Linked DNA regions of Homo sapiens: region 2 is linked to region 1. Evidence: promoter capture Hi-C in 16 types of primary human blood cells and fetal thymus (Javierre and others, 2016). All regions are on one chromosome and are shown on one strand. The core of a region is centred on a gene start or on the middle of the fragment in contact, and the rest is flanking DNA. Distances in the headings are between cores, read along the strand shown.

Evidence for each region. Contacts are between HindIII fragments. The CHiCAGO score rates a contact against its expected background, and 5 or more counts as called.
Region 2: a fragment that was not itself captured here is called in contact with the fragment with the promoter of AMHR2 in region 1 in 16 of 17 cell types (total B cells, erythroblasts, megakaryocytes and 13 more); the score reaches 13.3 in total B cells.

The regions. Positions count from the first base shown.
Region 1 is chr12:53,419,454-53,425,104 of GRCh38, forward strand. AMHR2 (anti-Mullerian hormone receptor type 2) reads left to right here and starts at 4,402. Exons shown (of 11, transcript NM_020547.3): 1 at 4,402-4,530; 2 at 4,835-5,017; 3 at 5,256-5,447. The coding sequence starts at 4,482. RefSeq lists an enhancer at 1,720-2,286 and a cis regulatory region at 1,971-2,489. The HindIII fragment of the contact is 5,088 bases long and covers 2,206-5,651 here.
Region 2 is chr12:53,373,295-53,378,945 of GRCh38, forward strand. No RefSeq gene overlaps it. Among named protein-coding and RNA genes, the nearest start is that of SP1, 4.1 kb to the right of the region's middle. The HindIII fragment of the contact is 5,800 bases long and covers 762-5,651 here.

The sequences.
Region 1 (5,651 bases), core at 3,152-5,651:
ATTTTTAGTAGAGACGGGTTTTCACCATGTTGGCCAGGGTGGTCTCCATCTCTTGACCTCGTGATCTGCCCGCCTCGGCCTCCCAAAGTGCTGGGATTACAGGCGTGAGCCACCACGCCCGGCCTCCTCTTTTATTTTCATTTCCACTGTCTCAGTACTCACTTTGTTTACTGCTTAGGTCTTGCAACTGATCTCTCCAAACCCCAGTAGTCATCCATCTTCCAATTGCCACCAGGCCCCTGCCTAAAATTCTTTGCTTTTAGGGAAAGCCTAAGCTCCTTGATACAGAATTGAAAACCTGTCCAATCTGGTCCGTCTCTCTCTAAGGTGATTTTCTGTCTCATATCTCATACTGCTTCCTCCTCACTCCTTCCACCTTTAACACACAAGCCTTTGTGTTTATATCTCCATGCCTTTACTCTTGCCATTCCCTTTGCTTAGAAGGACTGTTCTCCTCTTACCATTGTGTTTACCTTTGGGACTATTTAAATATCCCCTTCTCTGTGAAACTCTCTGGGCACCTTTCTTCTATGCCCTAGGCAGAATTAGCTTACTTGATCTATTTGTATAGCTCCTTCCTCATGCCCCTAGTAGGAAACACAGTTTTCCGGTTGCTTGTCAATATCCACCTGCATTTCTACACTATGAGTTCCCAGAGGGCAGTAATCACACCTCTATCTTTGTAGGCCCAGCACCTAATGAAATACATTTTTTTTGGCCCCGCGCAGTGGCTCACGCCTGTAATCCCAGCACTTTGGAAGGCCTAGGCGGTGGATCACCTGAGATCAGGAGTTTGAAACCAGCCTGGCCAACATAGTGAAACCCCATCTCTACTAAAAATACAAAAAATTAGCCAGGCATGGTGACAGGCATCTGTAATCCTAGCTACTTGGGAGGCCGAGGCAGGAGAATTGCTTGAACCCAGGAGGCGGAGGTTGCAGTGAGCGGAGATTGCACCACTTTACTCCAGCCTGAATGACAGAGTGAGACTCCGTCTCAAAAAAAAAGGAAATTTTTTTTTAAAAATAATATAGGTGGGGGTCTCGCTATGTTACCCAGGGGGACTCCTGGCCTCCCAAAGTACTGGGATTACAGACATGAACCACAGCGCCCAGCCTCTATCACCATCTTAACTCTAAAACCTAACAGCCCAGAGCAGGTATAGTTCCCATAAACCTGACTGGAATGTTTCTATCTTGGAAAGAATTAGTTATCCGAAGCTTTGGGTGAGGAGACTGCCTTTCTGCCTGATCCTTACGCTGCTCCCACTCTGGAGGAGATAGTCTCCTGAGACATTCCAGACAAAAGAAGCTATTTCACCTTCAAATCTCCCCTCACACCCCACCACACACACCACCCCAGACTTATCTGATCTGGGGCTAGTGAAGGAAAGTAGCTGGAAGCACAACATTCCATCTCACTGGCAAGGCCCTGCAGACTCCTGGAAGGGTCCAAAGAAGGATGGGCGGCTATCTCGAGCCCTGGTCATTCCTCCCGCTGCTGTTTCACAACTACTGGAACTTTTACTATCTCTTCCTTTCATGCAGGTTTCCCAGAAGAAAGACCCCAGAATCAAAAAGTCAGTACTCAAGCTGGGCGCAGTGGCTCCCGTCTGCAATCCCGGCACTTTGGGAGGCCGAGGGGGGCGGATTACCTGAGGTCAGGAGTTTGAGACCAGCCTGGCCAACATGGCGAAACCCCGTCTCTACTAAAAATACAAAAATTAGCCGGGCGTGGTGGTATGCGCCTGTAGTCCCAGCTACTCAGGAAGCTGAGGCCGGAGAATCGCTTGAACCCGGTAGGCAGAGGTTGCAGTGAGCCGAGATCGCACCACTGCACTCCAGCCTGGGTGACAGAGCGAGACTCCGTCTCAAAAAAAAAAAAAAAAAAAAATGTCGGTACTCAGACTGTCCTCCCTGGTCTAAGCCAGATCATTCCAAGAAAGGGTTTCCAGGAAGCCACTAGGGGGACAGAAAGCTAGGGAAACAGAGAACAAGTCCCCTCTGACTCTTAATTCTCAAGGAGCCAGTGGCTCACAGGTGTGGAAGTGATTACCTATTTCTGTTGTTTCTTACTCTGGGAAAGAGTCTGGTGGAGTTGGACTCCTCTGTCTCTACTGCAGAACAAGCCATAGCCCTCTCCTCCCAACTCCATGCTGAAACTCTCCACATCCTGTGCCCGCCCTTCACATTTTATAGTCCCTGAAGCTTAGTAAATGTAGGAGGTATACTATATGTATTAGTCATCAGAGGAGGTACTTTCTGCCCTCTCACCGCAGCAGGGAATTTCTCCTCTGCTGACCTCTGGTGGTGATAGTTTGAACTGTACCCTCCCTTTTTAGTTAGTGGCCTGTTGGCAGGTAATGATGCATATTTTCTCAACAATTTAAATTCAAATGTCCAAGTATAGTATTAAGTGGTAATTTTTTTTCATTGTTGAATTTTGTACGTCTTTCAGGCAGTATAGTGTAATACAAAGAATAGAGCCGGCCGGGTGCGGTGGCTCACGCCTGCAATCCCAGCACTTTGGGCGGCCGAGGCGGAGGGATCACGAGGTTAAGAGATCGACCCCTTCGGCCGGGCGCAGTGGCTCACGCCTGTAATCTCAGCACTTTGAGAGGCCGAGGCGGGCGGATCACGAGGTCAGGAGATCAAGACCATCCTGGCTAACACGGTGAAAACCCGTCTCTACTAAAAATACAAAAAATTAGCCGGGCGTGGTGGCGGCCGCCTGTAGTCCCAGCTGCTCGGGAGGCTGAGGCAGGAGAATGGCGTTAACCCGGGAGGCAGAGCTTGCAGTGAGCCGAGATCGCGCTACTGCACTCCAGCCTGGGCGACAGAGCAAGACTCCATCTCAAAAAAAAAAAAAAAAAAAAAAAGATCGACCCCATCCTGGCCAACATGGTGAAACTCCGTCTCTACTAAAAGTACAAAAATAATAATAAAAATAAGACTAGAACCTGGACTTTGGAGTCAGACCTGCCTAAGTTCAAATTCCAGCTCTGCTATTTCCTAGCTGAATGACTTTGGGCGACTTACGTAAGTTCAGTTTTCTTACCTATAAAATGGAAATAATAAAAATAATAGGCCAGGCACAGTGGCTCACACTTGTAATCCCAGCACTTTGGGAGGCCAAGGCGGGCAGATCACGAGGTCACGAGATCGAGACTATCCTGGCCAACATGGTGAAACCCTGTCTCTACTAAAAATACAAAAATTAGCTGGACATGGTGGTGCGTGCCTGTAATCCCAGCTACTCGGGAGGCTGAGGCAGGAGAATCGCTTGAACCAGGGAGTCAGAGGTTGCAGTGAGCCAAGATGGCACCACTGCACTCTAGCCTGGTGACAGAGCGACACTCGGTCTCAAAAAATAAATAAATAAAATAATAATAATAAATATTTCAGGGGAGAATTAGATGAGATGATTGTAAAATGCATAGCCCTAGCTGTGCCCCAGCACATAGTAGGTGCTTGATAAGAAATTTGTTACCTCCTTAATAATGGGTATTTGTTCAGCCTGTGAACCAATGTGTTTTTTTTTTTTAAGTAAAATCCACGGCTAGGCATGGTGGCTCACGCCTATAATCCCAGCACTTTGGGAGGCCGAGGCGGGCAAATCACCTGAGGTAAGGAGTTCGAGACTAGCCTGGCTGACATGGTGAAACCCCGTCTCTACTAAAAATACAAAAATTAGCCAGGTGTGGTGGCAGGCGCCTGTAATCCCAGCTACTCAGGAGGCTGAGGCAGGAGAATAGCTTGAACCCAGGAGGCGGAGGTTGCAGTGAGCTGCGATCGTGCCACTGCACTCCAGCCTGGGGGAGAAGAGCGAGACTCCGTCTCAAAAAAAAAAAAAAAAAAATCCACATAGCAAAATTTACCATTGTTACTGTTTTCAATGTGTTTTTTAAAAATTCAGGTAAGTTTTGTATACTTTCTGATTCTTAAGTTGGAAAACAAGGTAACCTCTAATATGGGCTGTGAGGCCTTCCTCTGCCCAAGCAGTTGCAGATATGAACCCTGAATATAAAGAGATCTTAGGCTAGAAAGGATCTTGGGCAGAGCTGAATGGCTCTAAGCATTTGACCTCACATTGGTTTCCTCCTGAGAAGAGTCAACAGAGTCCAGCATCTTCTTCCAAGGTCAGGGAAGGGCAAAGATTTGAAATTAGGCATCACTGGGTTCTCAGCTGGGCCTCCAAGTTCCCCTCCTCTCACTATGCAGAGCAAAGAGGAGGTTGCAGAAGAGAAGAGGATATGAGATTGGTTCTCTGCTCCTCCCTTTCTTTCCCTGCTTTCCCCACACCCACCCTCTCCCCCACAGCAGCCTTCTCCCCCACAGAGGCTGGGATAGGATGAGGGGGGCGGAGTTGGGGACTGAGGGATCAGAAGCCCCAGGATGCCCTGTATCTGAAGAAAGATTTGGCCAGGGGCAGCTGTGCTGGCTTATGCTCTTCTCCTTCTGCTGCTGCCATCCTCCAGCAAGATGCTAGGGTCTTTGGGGCTTTGGGCATTACTTCCCACAGCTGTGGAAGGTAAGTGTCTACAGGGAGGGGAAGGGTCTCTCCATCCATCCAGCAAGGGAAAGGGGCGCTTGAAGCAAGAGCCACCCCTTTGGAAGAGTGGTGAGTGGGCTGGGTGAGTAAGGGTGAAGGATAGAGCCATGTGTCCCCATGGCAGGGCTCAGGTTCCAGGCCTCTGCTGACCCTGCTTCCTCCTGTGGCTTTACCATACTGACGCTGGGATGTGGAACATGTTTTGTCTATTCTTTTGGCCAGTTTTTTGCCTCTGCATTCACTCCCACCTTGAATCTTTTCCTTTCCCCACCCTGGGCCTCAGCACCCCCAAACAGGCGAACCTGTGTGTTCTTTGAGGCCCCTGGAGTGCGGGGAAGCACAAAGACACTGGGAGAGCTGCTAGATACAGGCACAGAGCTCCCCAGAGCTATCCGCTGCCTCTACAGCCGCTGCTGCTTTGGGATCTGGAACCTGACCCAAGACCGGGCACAGGTGGAAATGCAAGGTGAATGGCAAAGTATATGGCAGGTGATGGCTAGGGTGGGAGACAGACACATCCTGGGGTGTGGGTGGCAACCAAGGGGGAAGGGGAGAAATAGAACATCTGGTGGGAAAGAAAAGCCCATGAGAGCTGGAAGGGACGCCTCTGATAGAGAAGGGATTTACCCTCTGTTTCCACACCCCATTGTGCTTTCTTCCTTGCCCCCCCTTTCTCTCCTCTTCCCCTAATCCCATCCCATCAGGATGCCGAGACAGTGATGAGCCAGGCTGTGAGTCCCTCCACTGTGACCCAAGTCCCCGAGCCCACCCCAGCCCTGGCTCCACTCTCTTCACCTGCTCCTGTGGCACTGACTTCTGCAATGCCAATTACAGCCATCTGCCTCCTCCAGGGAGCCCTGGGACTCCTGGCTCCCAGGGTCCCCAGGCTGCCCCAGGTAGCCACCCAAGGGTACTGAAGCCTGATGGGGGCTGGGGCCCAGGTTAGGATGAGAGGTGGAACCAGGGCCAGTTCTCACCCTACTCCCGCCCCACGCTTTCCTCCTCCTGGCCTTGGGAAGTTGGTTGCCCTGGTGACTGGGAGATAAGGGGTCTTGTGACCAGGGTGGGGGTGGGTTGAGACGCAAGCTCTCAGGAGGGGA
Region 2 (5,651 bases), core at 2,412-4,911, 47 kb before region 1:
GAGATCGAGACCATCTTGGCTAACACGGTGAAACCCCGTCTCTACTAAAAATACAAAAAATTAGCCGGGCGAGGTGGCGGGCGCCTGTAATCCCAGCTACTCGGGAGGCTGAGGCAGGAGAATGGCATGAACCTGGGAGGCGGAGCTTGCAGTGAGCCGAGATAGTGCCACTGCAGTCCGGCCTGGGCGAAAGAGCGAGACTGTCTCTAAAAAAACAAAAAAAAAAGAATATTGGCCGGGCGCGGTGGCTCATAGCTGTAATCCCAGGACTTTGGGAGGCCGAGGCGGGTGGATCATCTGAGGTCAGGAATTGGAGACCAGCCTGACCAACATGGAGAAACCCCATCTCTACTAAAAAAATACAAAATTAGCCGGGCATGGTGGTGCATGCCTGTAATCCCAGCTACTCAGGAGGCTGAGGCAGGAGAATCACTTGAACCCGGGAGGTGGAGGTTGCAGTGAACTGAGATTGCGCCATTGCACTTCAGCCTGGGCAACAAGAGCAAAACTCTGTCTCATAAAAACAAACAAAGAAACAAACACAAAAAAGATTATCAGCAACCAGTTAACAGCAGCCAGTACTGAATTTCTCACAAGTTCTGGGCTTGCCAACCAGAAAGAAGCCTGTCTTGTTTCAGTTTCTTTTTGGATCAGTTTCTTGCTTTTCCAGGGCTCTTAAAAGACTTCCGGGGATGTATGTGATGTTCCATCCAGCTTCTATAGTCCTAATTGCACTGAATGATCCTAGCCTGCTTATCACAAGCTTCTGATGTGAAAAGTCTAGGCTTGTTTTCTTGTTCAGAGAGGTGGAAAGTAAGGGTTTAGAAGACTGCAAGACTTTACTGTTTTGTCAAAAGACTCTCTTCTTTTCTAGCCTCCTTTAATCTAGAGTAGGCAGGACAGGTAAAAGAAATTTCAGTTAGTCCACTTTGTACTCAGCTGTAGTTGAGAGTTTGATGGAGTTTCATTCTTGTTGCCCAGGCTAGAGTGCAATGGCGCAACGTTGGCTCACTGCAACCTCCACCTCCGGGGTGCAAGCGACTCTCCTGCCTCAGCCTCCTTTGTAGCTGGGATTACAGGCATGCGCCACCACGCCTGGGTAATTTTGTATTTTTAGTAGAGATGGGGTTTCTCCATGTTGGTCAGGCTGGTCTCGAACTGCCAACCTCAGGTAACCCGCCTGCCTCAGCCTCCCAAAGTGTTGGGATTACAGGGGTAAGCCACCGCGCCCGGCCTGTAAAATGTTCTTAATTATCAGATTCCTAAATGGGAGACTGAAAAAAGCTGAGGATTGGGTTCAAAATCAGGAAGAGGCCCGGTGGCTCATGCCTGTAATTCCAACACTGTGGGAGGCTGAGACGGGCGGATCACTTGAGGTCAGGAGTTTGAGACCAGCCTGGCCAACATGGTGAAACCCCCATCTCTACTAAAAATAACAAAATTAGCCAGGGGTGGTGGCATGTGCCTGTAGTTCCAGCTACCTCGGAGGCTGAAGTGGGAGAATTACTTGAACCTGGGAGACGGAGGTTGCAGTGAGCCCATATCCTGCCACTGCACTCTACCCTGGGCGACAGAGGGAGACTCCATCTCAAAATAAAACAAACAAACAAACAAAAATTAGGAAGAATGATTTAACTTTTATAAGGCACCCAAATGAAAGCTGAGAATCAATCTTAGTATTATATCTGGAGACTATTCAGGATGGTCAGGATTAGGCTTCCCCTCCCATTTAACAAAAATGTTTACTGGGACTCAACTATATTCCAGGCCCTGAGAATCCAAAGTGAAAAGGCATCATCCCTGCCCTCAAATCGCTTAATGTAGTTGGGGAGACAGGATACTTAGATACCTCTAATGGTGGCAAATAAAAGGAGCACAGTGGCCAGTGTATTCAATAACTGAGGGGGGTAGGAAAGGCTTCATAGAAGTCATTCTTATAAAAGATATGAATTTGGCCGGGTGCAGTGGCTCACGCCTGTAATCCCAGCACTTTGGGAGGCCAAGGCAGGTGGATCACAAGGTCAAGAGATCAAGACCATCCTGGCCAACATGGTGAAAACCTGTCTCTACTAAAAATACCAAAATTAGCTGGGTGTGGTGGCGTGCGCCTGTAGTCCCAGCTACTTGGGAGGCTGAGGCAGGAGAATCGCTTGAGCCCAGGAGGCGGAGGTTGCAGTGAGCCAAGATCACGCCACTGCACTCCAGCCTGGCAACAGAGCGAGACCCTGTACCCCCAACAAAAAAAAATGGTTGGGCCCGGTGGCTCATGCCTGTAATCCCAGCACTTTGGGAGGCCGAGGTGGGCGGATCACGAGGTCAAGAAATCGAGACCATCCTGGCTAACATGGTGAAACCCCGTCTCTACTAAAAATACAAAAAATTAGCCAGGCGTGGTGATGGGTGCCTGTAGTCCCAGCTACTCAGTAGGCTGAAGCAGGAGAATAGCGTGAACCCGGGAGGCAGAGCTTGCAGTGAGCCGAGATCGCGCCACTGCACTCCAGTGTGGGCCATAGAGCGAGACTCTGTATAGAAAAAAAAAAGATACGAATTTTAAGCAGGGCATGGTGGCTCGTGCTTGTAATCCCAGCACTTTGGGATTGAGCTCAGGAGTTCAACACCAACTGGGCCACATAATGAGATCTCAACAAAACATCAAAAAGTTAACCAGGTAGCCAGGTGCAGTGCCTCACACCTGTAATCGCAGCACTTTGGGAGGCTGAGGCGGGCAGATCAACTCAGGTCAGGAGTTCAAGATCAGCCTGGCTAACATGGTGAAACCCTGTCTCTACTAAAAATACAAAAATTAGCCAGGCATGGTGGCACATGTCTGTAGTCCCAGCTACAAGGGACGCTGAGGCAGAAAGAATTGCTTCAATCTGAAAGGCAGAGGTTGCAGTGAGCCAAAGTCGCGCCACTGCACTCCAGCCTGGGAAACAGGGCAAGACTCCGTCTCAGGAAAAAAAAAAATTGCCGGGCGCAGTGGCTCACACCTGTAATCCCAGCACTTTGGGAGGCCGAGGTGGGCAGAGGATCACCTGAGGTCAGGAGTTTGAGATCAGCCTGGCCAACATGATGAAATCTCATCTCTACTAAGATACAAAAATTAGCCAGGCATAGTGGCGTGCACCTGTAATCCTAGCTACTTGGGAGGCTGAGGCAGGAGAATCACTTGAACCTGGGCGGCAGAGGTTGCAGTGAGCTGAGATCGCACCACTGCACTCCAGGCTTGGAGACAGAGTGAGACTCTCAAAAAAAAAAAAGAAAAGATAGACACTGCGTGTGTGCATGTAAGGGATCTGAATAGCCTTGATATAAGTTGGTTTTTTTGTTTTTGTTTTTTTTTTTCAGTCTAAAGAACACTTTTTCAGGTTTTTACAGAGCAATTGGACAAGATGGATCATGTCATTCATTTGCTCTCAGGGACTATCAATAAACTAGTATACGTCTAGGGCATTCCTCACTGGCCTCATGCTGAATTGTCTTCTTCTGGAGGAGCAAAGGGGAAAGGATTGTAAAAAGGATGATGGCTATTGAATTTCTGAATTTAGGTCTTTTTGTCAGTTTAATTTTATCCTAATTCCCAATTCGGGTGTAGTCTAGGACTATGGAAAAAACACAGGCTTTGGAACTAAACAGAACAGTCATAATTTAACTAAAATATCTGAGCCTCAGTTTTCTCATCTGTAAAAGGGGACAACTATCTCTTAAATTGGTAGGAATAATTAAATTAGATAAATATGTGAAATGTTTAGAATACTCCTCCACGGTGTTAAGTTTCCTCTCCCTACCTCCACCCCTAAGCAAGTTTAGGTATGGACAGTTGCTGAATGGACTAAACAGCTATTAGAATCTTCAGAGCTTGGTTTACAAAGATGAGTAATGCAGTTTCTTCCTTCCAGGAAATTTCTCCCTTTCTGGAAGTTTCTTTTCCCCAGTTTCTTCTCTTGGTGTTTTTGTTTTGTTTTGTTTTCTTTTCTTTTCTTTGAGACCAAATCTTGCTCTGTCGCCCAGGCTGGAGTGCAGTGGCATGATCCCCGGTCACTGCAACCTCCGCCTCTAGGTTCAAGCGATTTTCCTGCTTCAGCCTTCCGAGTAGCTGGGACTATAGGCATGCACCACCACGCCCGACTAATTTTTGTATTTTTAGTAGAGATGGGGTTTCACCATGTTGGTCAGGCTGGTCTCGAACTCCTGACCTCCAGTGATCTGCCCGCCTCTGCCTGCCAAAATGCTGGGATTACAGGCATGAGCCACTGCGCCCAGCCTTCTTGGTGTGTTTTAAACTAGGTTTAGGGCCTAATCACTTGAAAGAGCTACTTAAAAATAGGTTTAGGGTGGAAATCTAGGAATCTGCCTTTTTTGAAAAAAGAACCCAGAGGATTCTGAGAGTGTGTGACATTTCATTTTGAGAAACCTTGATACAGTGAGAGATGAAATTAATTGTCATGTATTCTGATAAATTTTATAATAAAGGTATCTAAGAGGATGATGCCATTTGATCCGTCCTGGGAGTAGGCTTTTTTTTTTTTTTTTCAGGAGCTAGACAGTAAAAATTAAAAAGCATCTATATATTTACTTTTTTTTTTTTCTTTGAGATGGAGTTTCACTGTCGTTGCCCAGGCCCGAGTGCAATGGCACGATCTTGGCTCACTACAACTTCTGCCTCCTGGATTCAAGCGATTCTCCTGCCTCAGCCTCCCAAGTGGCTGGGATTACAGACATGTCCCACCATGCCTGGCTAGTTTTATATTTTTAGTAGAGACGGGGTTTCTCCATGTTGGTCAAGCTGGTCTTGAACTCCTGACCTCAGGTGATCCGCCTGCCTCGGCCTCCCAAAATGCTGGGATTACAGGCATGAGCCACCGCGCCCAGTCTATATATTTACTTATTTTGGAGCAAGGTCTTGCTTTGTTGTCCTGGCTGGAGTGCAGTGGCAGGATTTGAGCTCACTGCAGCCTCAACCTCCTGGGTTCAAGCGATTCTTCCACCCCAGCCTCCCGAGTAGCTGGGACTACTGGCGCACATCACCACGTCTGGCTAATTTTTGTTATTTTTTGTGGAGACGGGGTTTCACCATGTTGCCCAGGCTGGTCTTTAACTCCTGGGCTCAAGCGATCCGCCCGCCTCGGCCTCCCATAGTGCTGGGATTACAGGTCTGAGCCATTGCGCCCGGCGGCAGTTTAATTCCCTCAAGAATTTATAGAAAACTTTTGGTGGAACTATTCTGGGTTGGAATCTAACACTACAACTCATTTGCTTTGTGACCTTGGGTAAGTCACTTCTCAGCCTAAATGTCTTCACTTATAAAATACATAATATAGCTGATACTTAATAAAATCTTCCTTTTAAGGATGACATGGAATACTAACTGCCTCCCTGACTTAGGCACCTAACACGGTAGGCAGTCAGCAATCACTTCACCTTTTTACCTGTTTAAAGCAGCAGAGGCCTCAGTTCTTACCTTCAAAGGGCTTAAAATAGTTTAGGAGAATTCACATTTTAAAACATAAGAACATATAAGCAGGTGACAACATATAAGATACAAATACTGAAGGACATGACCTCATCGTGTCATTGACAAGCTATTAAGGCCGGCTCCACCAAAACACGGATAAAGAGGAGGCCAGAAATCCAGGTGCCTGCAGTAAAGT